Linked DNA regions of Homo sapiens: all the other regions are linked to region 2. Evidence: promoter capture Hi-C in 16 types of primary human blood cells and fetal thymus (Javierre and others, 2016). All regions are on one chromosome and are shown on one strand. The core of a region is centred on a gene start or on the middle of the fragment in contact, and the rest is flanking DNA. Distances in the headings are between cores, read along the strand shown.

The links. The method cuts DNA at HindIII sites, captures the fragments that hold promoters and counts their contacts. A CHiCAGO score of 5 or more calls a contact.
Region 1: the fragment with the promoter of ZNF852 here is called in contact with a fragment that was not itself captured in region 2 in 5 of 17 cell types (naive CD8 T cells, fetal thymus, total CD8 T cells and 2 more); the score reaches 7.5 in naive CD8 T cells.
Region 3: the fragment with the promoter of ZNF660 here is called in contact with a fragment that was not itself captured in region 2 in 1 of 17 cell types (naive B cells); the score reaches 5.1 in naive B cells.

What each region holds. Positions count from the first base shown.
Region 1 is chr3:44,509,365-44,512,109 of GRCh38, forward strand. It overlaps ZNF852 (zinc finger protein 852), which reads right to left and starts at 1,253. Exons shown (of 4, transcript NM_001423469.1): 1 at 1,189-1,253. RefSeq lists enhancers at 636-1,412, 1,413-2,189, 1,648-1,707 and silencers at 1,018-1,177, 1,188-1,247, 1,378-1,427. The HindIII fragment of the contact is 19,774 bases long and covers 1-2,745 here.
Region 2 is chr3:44,844,448-44,847,551 of GRCh38, forward strand. All of the region lies in intron 30 of KIF15 (kinesin family member 15), which reads left to right. It also overlaps the pseudogene HNRNPA1P77. Among named protein-coding and RNA genes, the nearest start is that of MIR564, 16 kb to the right of the region's middle. The HindIII fragment of the contact is 209 bases long and covers 1,500-1,708 here.
Region 3 is chr3:44,583,134-44,586,248 of GRCh38, forward strand. It overlaps ZNF660 (zinc finger protein 660), which reads left to right and starts at 1,831. Exons shown (of 3, transcript NM_173658.4): 1 at 1,831-1,874; 2 at 2,972-3,080. ZNF660-ZNF197 (ZNF660-ZNF197 readthrough) reads left to right here and starts at 1,831. Exons shown (of 8, transcript NR_147692.2): 1 at 1,831-1,874; 2 at 2,972-3,080. The region is part of intron 2 of ZKSCAN7-AS1 (ZKSCAN7 ZNF cluster antisense RNA 1); the gene reads right to left. It also overlaps a transcript of ZKSCAN7 not described here. The HindIII fragment of the contact is 2,337 bases long and covers 350-2,686 here.

The DNA of each region.
Region 1 (2,745 bases), core at 3-2,502, 340 kb before region 2:
TCCATCAATATGGCTAAATAAAAGTAGCATTTTTATAGGATGAAATACCATACAGCACCTAAAAGGAACATACTAGATCCTTATGCATCACCATGACTGTTCCACTATTCACCAGGTGGCCAGGCTGTGCTGCCAAGATTAAAAGGCCATCCAAGGAAGGGATAGCACATGATTTGAGGTCGCTGAGGACAGATACCAACCACATCAGGCCCCAAGAGGTACAGCGTATACTTACAGCAAAAGGAGAAACAGGGAACAAGATCCAGCCTCCTGCAATGCAAAGAGCCCCCACACCCAGCAGATCCACTCCACAGCTATAGGGCTGGTGTGATGCACACACCCCACTTAGTAAGGAAGAAAGATCTCAATCCACCCTCCCCACTCCTATGGGGTGTGAAATACAGAAGGCTGAGAGAATGAATGAAGGCCACTGACTTAAGAGATTAAACACAACAAAGGAGTACACATGAAGCCTGAAACACTGAAAGACACAAGGCATTAAATGCAGCAGCACAGGCTGTGAGGGCTCTAACTCTGCAAGGAAATGTTCCAGGCTCAAGGTCACTCTTACATTCTTAACTTGGCAATGGGCTATTTAAAAAAAAAAAAAAGACATTAAAAACTGTCAATTCTTCTTGTCTCCCAGTTTAGATATTCCTTCTTTCATTAATTTAACAAACACCTTCTAGGAGCACCTACTATTTCCCATACACTAAGGTAACAGCAGTTAATAAAGCAAACAGAAAGCACTGCCCTGGCAAGGGGCTTATGGGAAGATAACCAATAAACAAATACATGCTATGTTAGACGGCGACAGGTGCCAGGAAGTGAAATAAGACAAGAAAAAGGGAGAAGTCTATGCCAGATGTTTTCAATGTCAGGAGACCTGGAGACTAAGATTTCCGGACGGTGGCTACTTTCACTTTTCTTCCACTTATCTAATTGTCTCTAATAAGTACGCTTTATTCGCATAATTGGGTGAAAAGATAAAGCCAGAAGAAACCGGGAATTTTCCAGATTCTCTGCCCCAGACGCCCGGGGGGCGAAGAGGTATGCCCTCGGCGCGGCCGGGCGGGATCCACGGCCAGACCCCCGCCCCGGGTGCAGCCTCCAGGCCCGGCCTCACCTGCCACTCTCGCACGCACAGCCGCCCCCGCTCCGCACCCCGCGCCCCGCCGGGCCGCTCACCGACTCCGCCGCCGAGAGACAATCATCCAAACGCCGCCACCGCAGCCGACCGCCCCGCGCCTACCTCCCAGCTTCCCCAGTTGCGCACGCGCGTCGCCTCCCCGGGCCCTCTGCGGCCTCTCTAGGAAACTGGGAGGGCCAACATCTCTGCTTCTCCCTGGGCCCAGGGCCGCTGGCGGCGGGCGGCGGGCGGCGGGCGGCGGGCGGCGGGCGGCGGGCGGCGGGGCTTGTCCAGCATCCTTCGCCTCCTTCCGCGGACACTTGTCTTCCACGCTCTGATGCCCAGGCGCGCTCCAGAACTCTATCGGCTTTGGCGTATTATCCTACATCCCTCCCATCGGTTCTGCACGGCTGCCCTGGAGGCCTCTTTTCCTTCAGGGAAGAAAGGGATCCAAAGCTAGCGGTGAAAATAGAGCCAGCGGCCTGGCGCGGTGGCTCACGCCTGTAATCCCAGAACTTTGGGAAGCCGAGGTGGGCGGATCACGAGGTCAGGAGATCGGTGGCTAACACGGTGAAACCCCGTGTCTACTAAAAATAAAAAAAAAGTAGCTGGGTGTGGTGGCGCGGCGCCTGTAATCGCAGCTACTTCGGCGGCTGAGGCAGGAGAATCGTTTGAACCTGGGAGGCGGAGGTTGCAGTGAGCCGAGATCGTGCCACTGCACTCCAGCCTGGGAGACAGAGCCAGACTCCGTCTCAAAAAACAAACAAACAAAAAAATAGGGCCAGCACATCCCCAAACATAAAACCCTTGAATGGAGAAATTCCCAAACAAGGCAATAAGCCCAGCACTGGCCGTGAGAGTTTATTATCCCCTTTTAAGTAAATGCTACAAGCCCTAGGCGCACTTTTGCAACTGTTCAAGGGTCATCAGGCTGCACATGACTGACCAAGACACTCAGTTGCCCACTTTGGATGGAGCTACAGCTTTGTGGGAAAAACAGATAATAGAAATTACACAAATACATCAATGTCAAGTGGTTACGAACACTGTTGAAATGTAACAGAGTTATTTAATTGACAGCGACTGATGATAATGCTTGTATTTTTTCTGGTACTTTTCTGTATACTTCCGGTAGCTCATAACACACTGGCTGCCATGCATTGATTTGAGTTGCCCAAGGAAATAGAGTCAGTAACTGGAATAGCCACTGAATCCAAATCTTTTGGTCTTTTCACTACTGTGCTTCATAAAAGCTCTCCCGTCCCACGTCCCTGTAGAGGGAGAGTTGGGGATAGCATGGCTCCTAGCTGAGATCCCAGAAGCTAGGGGTAGAAGGTTGTGGGCAGGATAGTGAGGAGGGCAAGATTCCAAGGAAAACTAAAATCCCTGCCCAGGAACGGTTACCACCTGGGAAAGCAGGAATGACCCAACGCATCAAGGCCCAGAGTGTACTCAAAGAACAACAGGTTAGGATGAGGGTCAAAACTCAGACCAGAAAGAGCATTAGCTGAGCTTGGTGGTGCACGCCTGTAGTCCTAGCTACTGTGGAGGCAGAGGCGGAAGGATCGCTTGGGCCGGGGAGGTCGAGGCTGCAGTGAGCTATGATTGGGGCAGTG
Region 2 (3,104 bases), core at 354-2,853:
TCCAATTCTATTAAAGAAAAGCCTTATATTTAGTATACTGTCTTTTGTCAAGAGCTACTGTGAACATAGAACATTTCCGGATCATTTGTAAAATGAAAATTTAAAATACCGTATTTCAGAGATACGTCATAAGCTTACTACTTTTGCCCATGGATGCCACTAAGGATGCATCGTTCAAGTCTTTCTTCCCACTACCAACATATCTAAGTCAGAGTCTCTTAAATAGCCCGAATAGCTACAGAAGCTCTTCATCAGACGATTGAGCTTTGAAACAACCAATAAGAGTCTGGGGAGCCATTCTGAGTAGTGAGGAAAGCTCATGGATTATATAGCAATGAGAGACCCAAACACCAAGCATTCCAGGGCCTTTGGTTTTTCACAGATGGCACTGTGGAGGAGATGGATGCAGCCGTAAATCAAGGCGACACAAGGCAGATGAAAGAGTTGTGAAACCAAAGAGGGATGTCAAGAAAAGATTCTCAAAGACCAGGTGCCTGGTTAACTGTAAAAAAGATCTTTGTTGGTGGCATCACAGAAGACACTGAAGAACATCACCTAAGAGATTATTGTGAAGGTATGAGAAAATAGGAGTGGTTGAAATCATGACTGAGTGAGGCAATGGCAAAAAGAAGAGCTTTACTTTTTTAACCTTTGAGGACAGCCATGACTCTGCGAATAAGATTGTCTCTCAGAAATACCGTAAAGTACATAGCCACTACCATGAAGTATGGAAAACCATGTTGAAGAAAGAAATGGTTAGTACTTCAGCCAGCCAGAGAGGTCAGAGTGGTTCTGGAAACTTTGGTGGTGGTCATGGAGGTGGTTTTGGTGGGAGTAACAACTTTGGTCATCAAGGAAAAATTTCACTGGTAATGGTAGCTTTGGAGGCAGCTGTATTGGTGGATATGGGGGCAGCAGGGATGGCTATAATGGATTTAGTACTTAAATGATGGAAGCAGTTTTGGAGATGGTGGGAACTACAACGATTTTGGTAATTACAACAACCAATCTTCAATCAATTTTGAACCCATGAAGAGAAGAAACTTTGGAGACAGAAACTCTGGCACCTAAAAAAAAAAGAAAGAAAGAAACTCTGGCCCCTGTGGTGGCTGAGGCTACTATGTTGCCAAAACATCAAATCAAGGTGGCTAAGGCATGTGAAAGTTGCCAGTACCAGAATGGAGTCACTTATGTCAAAACCCTAACAAAGTGGAGTCAGGAGGCCCTAAAAAAGTTCTCACCGCACATGCCTATAATATACCTTATCACAAGAAATTCCTGCAGGTCCCACATGCCCCACTTCTGCACTCACCCTGCAACAGAGCTTATCACAGGAATTTTTCAGGCCTGCAGTATTTCAGACAAGCTGCCAGCACCAGGACAGTTACTCAGCAACAGCCATCTCCACCAATGAATAAACGCCAACTCCTGCACTGAGCTTCTGTGACCCGTGAGCTTTATTTCAAGCTTTATTTCATGGATTTCTCTTTGTCTTTAAAAGCTTTCCCTTTCCCCAACTCCCCTGGATACATTAATGGCCCGTCATAGCTTGCATACCCTGCAATTGCAATCCCTCTGCTATTCCTAGATAAACTTGTTTGTTCTAAAGAGCCTGTCTTTCTGAGTTTCTTTTTAGGTTGACAGGCAGTTCCAGTAGCAGCAGTAGTTATGGCAGTGGCAGAAGGTTTTAATTAATGCCAGGAAACAAAGCTTAGCAGGAGAGGAGAGCCAGAGAAGTGACAGGGAAACTACAGGTTACAACAGATTTGTGAACTCAGCCAAGCACAGTTGGTAGCAGGGCCTAGCTGCTACAAAGAAGATATGTTTTAGACAATACTCAGGTGTATGGGTAAAAAACTCAAGGACCGTATTTGTGACTAATTGTATAACAGGTTAGTTTAGTTTCTGTTCTGTGGAAAGTGTAAAGCAGTCTTAACAAAGAGTTTTAATGTGTTTTTTTTTTCCTTTGCACTCATCCTGTTGATTGCCAAATGTCATAGTCTGATCATGATGTTGAATAAATGTCTTTTAAAAGATGTTTTTCACTGGGTGTCGTGGCTCACGCCTGTAATTCCAGCACTTTGAGAGGCCGAGGCAGGCAGATCATTTGAGGTCAGGAGTTTGAGACCAGCCTGACTAACATGGTGAAACCCTGTCTCTACTAAAAATACAAAAAATGAGTCAGGAGTGGTGGCACGCACCTGTAATCCCAGCTACTCAGGAGGCTGAGGCAGGAGAATCGCTTGAACCGGGGAGGTGGAGGTTGTAGTAAGCTGAGATTGCACTGTTGCATTCCAGCCTGGGACAGAGTAGGACTCTGTCTCAAAAAAAAAAAAAAAAAAAAAGTTTTTCATTTCATAGCCTCACATTCCTTATATATAAAAGAGCTACTCAGAACCTTCTTTGTGAAAAATTAGAGAAAGGGCAGACTATAGCTCAGGGGCCTAATTCAGCTCACAACCTGTTTTGTAAATAAAATTTTATTGAGACATAGTCACACCCTGTCATTTTAATATTGTTGTGGCTACTTTTGCACTACAATAGCTAAGTTGAATAGCTGTGGCAGAGACCGCATGGCTCCCAAAGCCTGAAATATTTACTGTCTCGTTCTTGACAGAAGACGTTTGCCAATCCTTGGATTAGTGGACAGAAAACATATCTTTCCCTAATGATTTGGGGTATTTCTTCATTGAGGACTCATTACCATTTTTGTCTGGGCTGCCAGATTTGTTAAGGGAAAGAAACCTCACTGTAGCTTCTGTTTTCCTTCAAGAAATGGTCTTTTACTCACCAGTGAGAGAGATATTCCTAGAGAAGCCTACAACATTCAGGAAGGTTCTCCAAGGAGGGAGGGAGGGATGTCTCTCTGGTCCAGGGGCTGCACACAGAAACTCAACTTATTATCCTCACCTGGTCAGGCTCACAGAGATAGATGTATTATCTAGAATGTAATTTTCTTACTTTATATATTGGAACATTCCTTTTCCATGAAGACATATCTGGTGCTTGGGACATCTGGCCCTGGTGTCCACATACACGGAAAGGCAGAGTGGTTATCAGAAAATGCCAACTGACTATGGAACCTGAGCAAAAGAGAGTCAAGG
Region 3 (3,115 bases), core at 581-3,080, 260 kb before region 2:
GCCAGGCTGGTTTCGAACTCCTGACCTCAGGTGATCCACCCGCCTCAGCCTCCCAAAGTGGTGGGATTACAGGCGTGAGCCACCACACCCAGCCTATTCTTTTTAAGTTTCTTGATGTAGTGGCAGTAGTCTTGTGCTCTTCAGGAGAGTGTCCCGAGTTCTACGTCCCACATCAACTGAGGGTGTGAACTTGTGGAGGACTTTTGTCTGAATCTCTTTTTCAATCTCTATACAATGTGGCGGAGTTGTGCCACCTACATGAGCCAATGGAGAAGAAAGCTCCTGGTATACTTTAAGTACTCAACAATATTAAATACTGAATATTTGTCAATTGACGAAGTACTTCAAAAGCTTGATTCTCAGACTCCTTCTTAGATAAATCATTCCCTAGATTGTCTCATCCTGTCCTGACAACTTCCAAATTTATGTCTTTAGCTGTGATCTCTTCACGGAAGTCCAGACTCCTATTCCAACTGCCTGTTTGGCATTTCATCTTGGATGTTTAATTGGCATCTTTAACACATCCAAAACAAAACTATTAATCCCTCTCCCTAAACCTGTTCCTTTCAAGCTACTCGATTTCTAAAAGACCATCCCATGCTAGTTGCTCAGATCAATAACCATGGAGTCATCAGTAACCAACATTCAATTCATTAGCAAATCATGCAGGCCATGCCTTCAAAATATATGCAGAACCATTTCTCACTACCTGCATCACTTCTAAGCCTGTCCAAGCCACTATCAGTCCTCATCTGGAATATTGTAATGGCCTCTTAATCTCCCTGATTCTACTCTTACCCACCTTCAGACCGTTCTCAACAAGACAGCCAAAGCAAACTAAAAATATAAGTCAAAGAGCAAAATTCATGCAAGGTTTATGTTAGAATGGCTAAGGACAGACAGCAAAGAATTCACAGAATTTATAGTAACAGGCTTCTTGGCTTCTTTCATGTCTCATAGCTAACAAGTCTTTGAATATGTGGTAAGGGAAAAAAAGTTAGATCATGTCGTTCCTCTGTCCCCAAGCCCTCCAGCTGTTATGCAGAGCAAATCCAAAGCCCTTATCATAGTCTACAAGATCCTAAATGTGCACCTCTCCACCCCACTCCTGATTAAAGAATTTTGCTCCTAATGGCCCACTATGGGAATACTCTTTCCCCAGATAGCCACATGCTTCAATTGCCCACTTCCTGTCTCTGCCCTCCCTGTCATCTGTAAAATAGTCCCACCACTATCTCCCTCTCTCCCCTTACTCCCTCTCTCCCCTTACTGCTACGTTCTACATATTTATTTATCATTGTCTCCTTGACTTGAATGTAAACTCAATGGGGCAGAGAGTTCATTTTCTTCACTACTGTATCCGCAGCGCCTGGAACAGTGAGTGACATAGTAGGCACCCAAAACGTCTTTTCATATGCTGCCAATAAACCATAGCTGATCCTGGCTTTGAGGCTGAATGACCCAGATCTGTGGAAGGAAAGATGACCTCTCTGCTCAGCAACCGGAGCTGGGGGTGTAACTTTAGGGAGTCTCAGCCTGAGGCTGGCAGCCTGGCCACCCAGATGCTCGGTCTCTTTCCGCCCTAACCAAGCCCCCTGCCCAGCTTCCACCACTTCCAGGGCCCTCCTCACATTGGCTGAAGTCGCCAAGCCCTTCCATCCAATGATAGGGCAAAGCCCGGAAGGGAGGCAGGGCCAGAGCGTCGGCCGACCGCGCGGGGCTTCTGAGGGGCGGGGGGACTCCAGCCCGCGGGCACAGAGATGTGGAAACCTCACGAAGCCTAGAAGGGCCGGAGGGACAGGCTGGGAGTTAGCTGGGAGTTGCTGACGCAGTTCCTTCTGCGCTTTGTTCAAGATGTGGGTCTGGCGCTTTCGGTGAGGGGTGCTCTACAGTCTGGCGTGGGGGGTCGGGCCGGGTTCTGGGAGCGTGTGGGAGACGCAAGCCAGGAGGCCAGGGCTCCTCTGCGGCTGCCCGCTGCTGAGATGGGCGCGGCAGCCAAGGGGTCGTTGTGGGCCTCCCCTTTCTCTCGTTCAGTGCTGCCCCTTTGTCTTGGGTCCAGTCTCTGACTCCTCGTAGCTGCTCGCTTGGACCAGGCTGGCCGTGGTGACAGCACTGTGTCGTCCCCGCTCCTAGGCAGTGGGCCTTCCGGGTAGTAGCGGTCGAGTCCCGCCTAGGCTCTCAGGACTCCACAGCCCCTGAGTATTTGACTCAAATCACCAGTCCAATATCCCTCCCGTTACCAGTGAGGAACCTGGGGCCCAGAGAAGAGGACGGAGTCTTGCCCAAGGTTACTCATTCATTCATTGATTCATTCAACAAATATTTATTGAGCACTAACCCAGTAGTGTGCTAGGTCCTGGGGTTATGGTTGTGTACAGGACAGAACTAAATTCTAGTAGGGGAGAAATGAAACAAACTTCAAGGGTTAGAAGCAGAGCCTGGGGATCTGGAGGGGGAAACACAAAACATATTTGAGGCTTAGTAATCCTAAGAAATGGGTAAACAGAAAAAAGGAACATTCTTTTTCTAGTGCTCTTTTAAAGACTTGTTTCTTTCTGTCTTCCTAAAGACACTTGACTCAGCAAAGTTCTCCCTCTCATCCCCCTTGTGCAGACTTTCTGTGGAAAGCTGGATTGCAAGGAAGTTCTCCACTGCATTGTATTTTGCAGTTAGATGAGAATATGGAAGCTTTTAGATATCAATGGAGCAGGTGAAAAGGGGAGGCTGTGGTGTGATGGAATTAGGATTTCCTGAAGACACAGAAGGCTTTTTAATCACTCACTAGCTATAGGACCTTGGGCAAGTCGTTCAATCCCTGGGAGCTTCATTCCCTCATCTTTACACTGGAAATGATCCTTCTTACTGCCCACAGTTCTATAGGAAGGGAAGTTACCCAAAGATGGGACACTGCCCTGAGTGTCCACTTGGAATTCAGGGCTCAGAGAACTCAGTCATTTATATCTGTTTACAGTGACTCAAGACCCTCTTAGGAACTTCTTCACTGAACTCAAGGAGGAGATCAGGCAAGATCTGTGCTGTGCAGATCCTTTGGATTGAGGCTGCTGTGCACAGGAATATGGGTGAGTCATTCCATTCTCTCCTGGGCAGGTGAGGC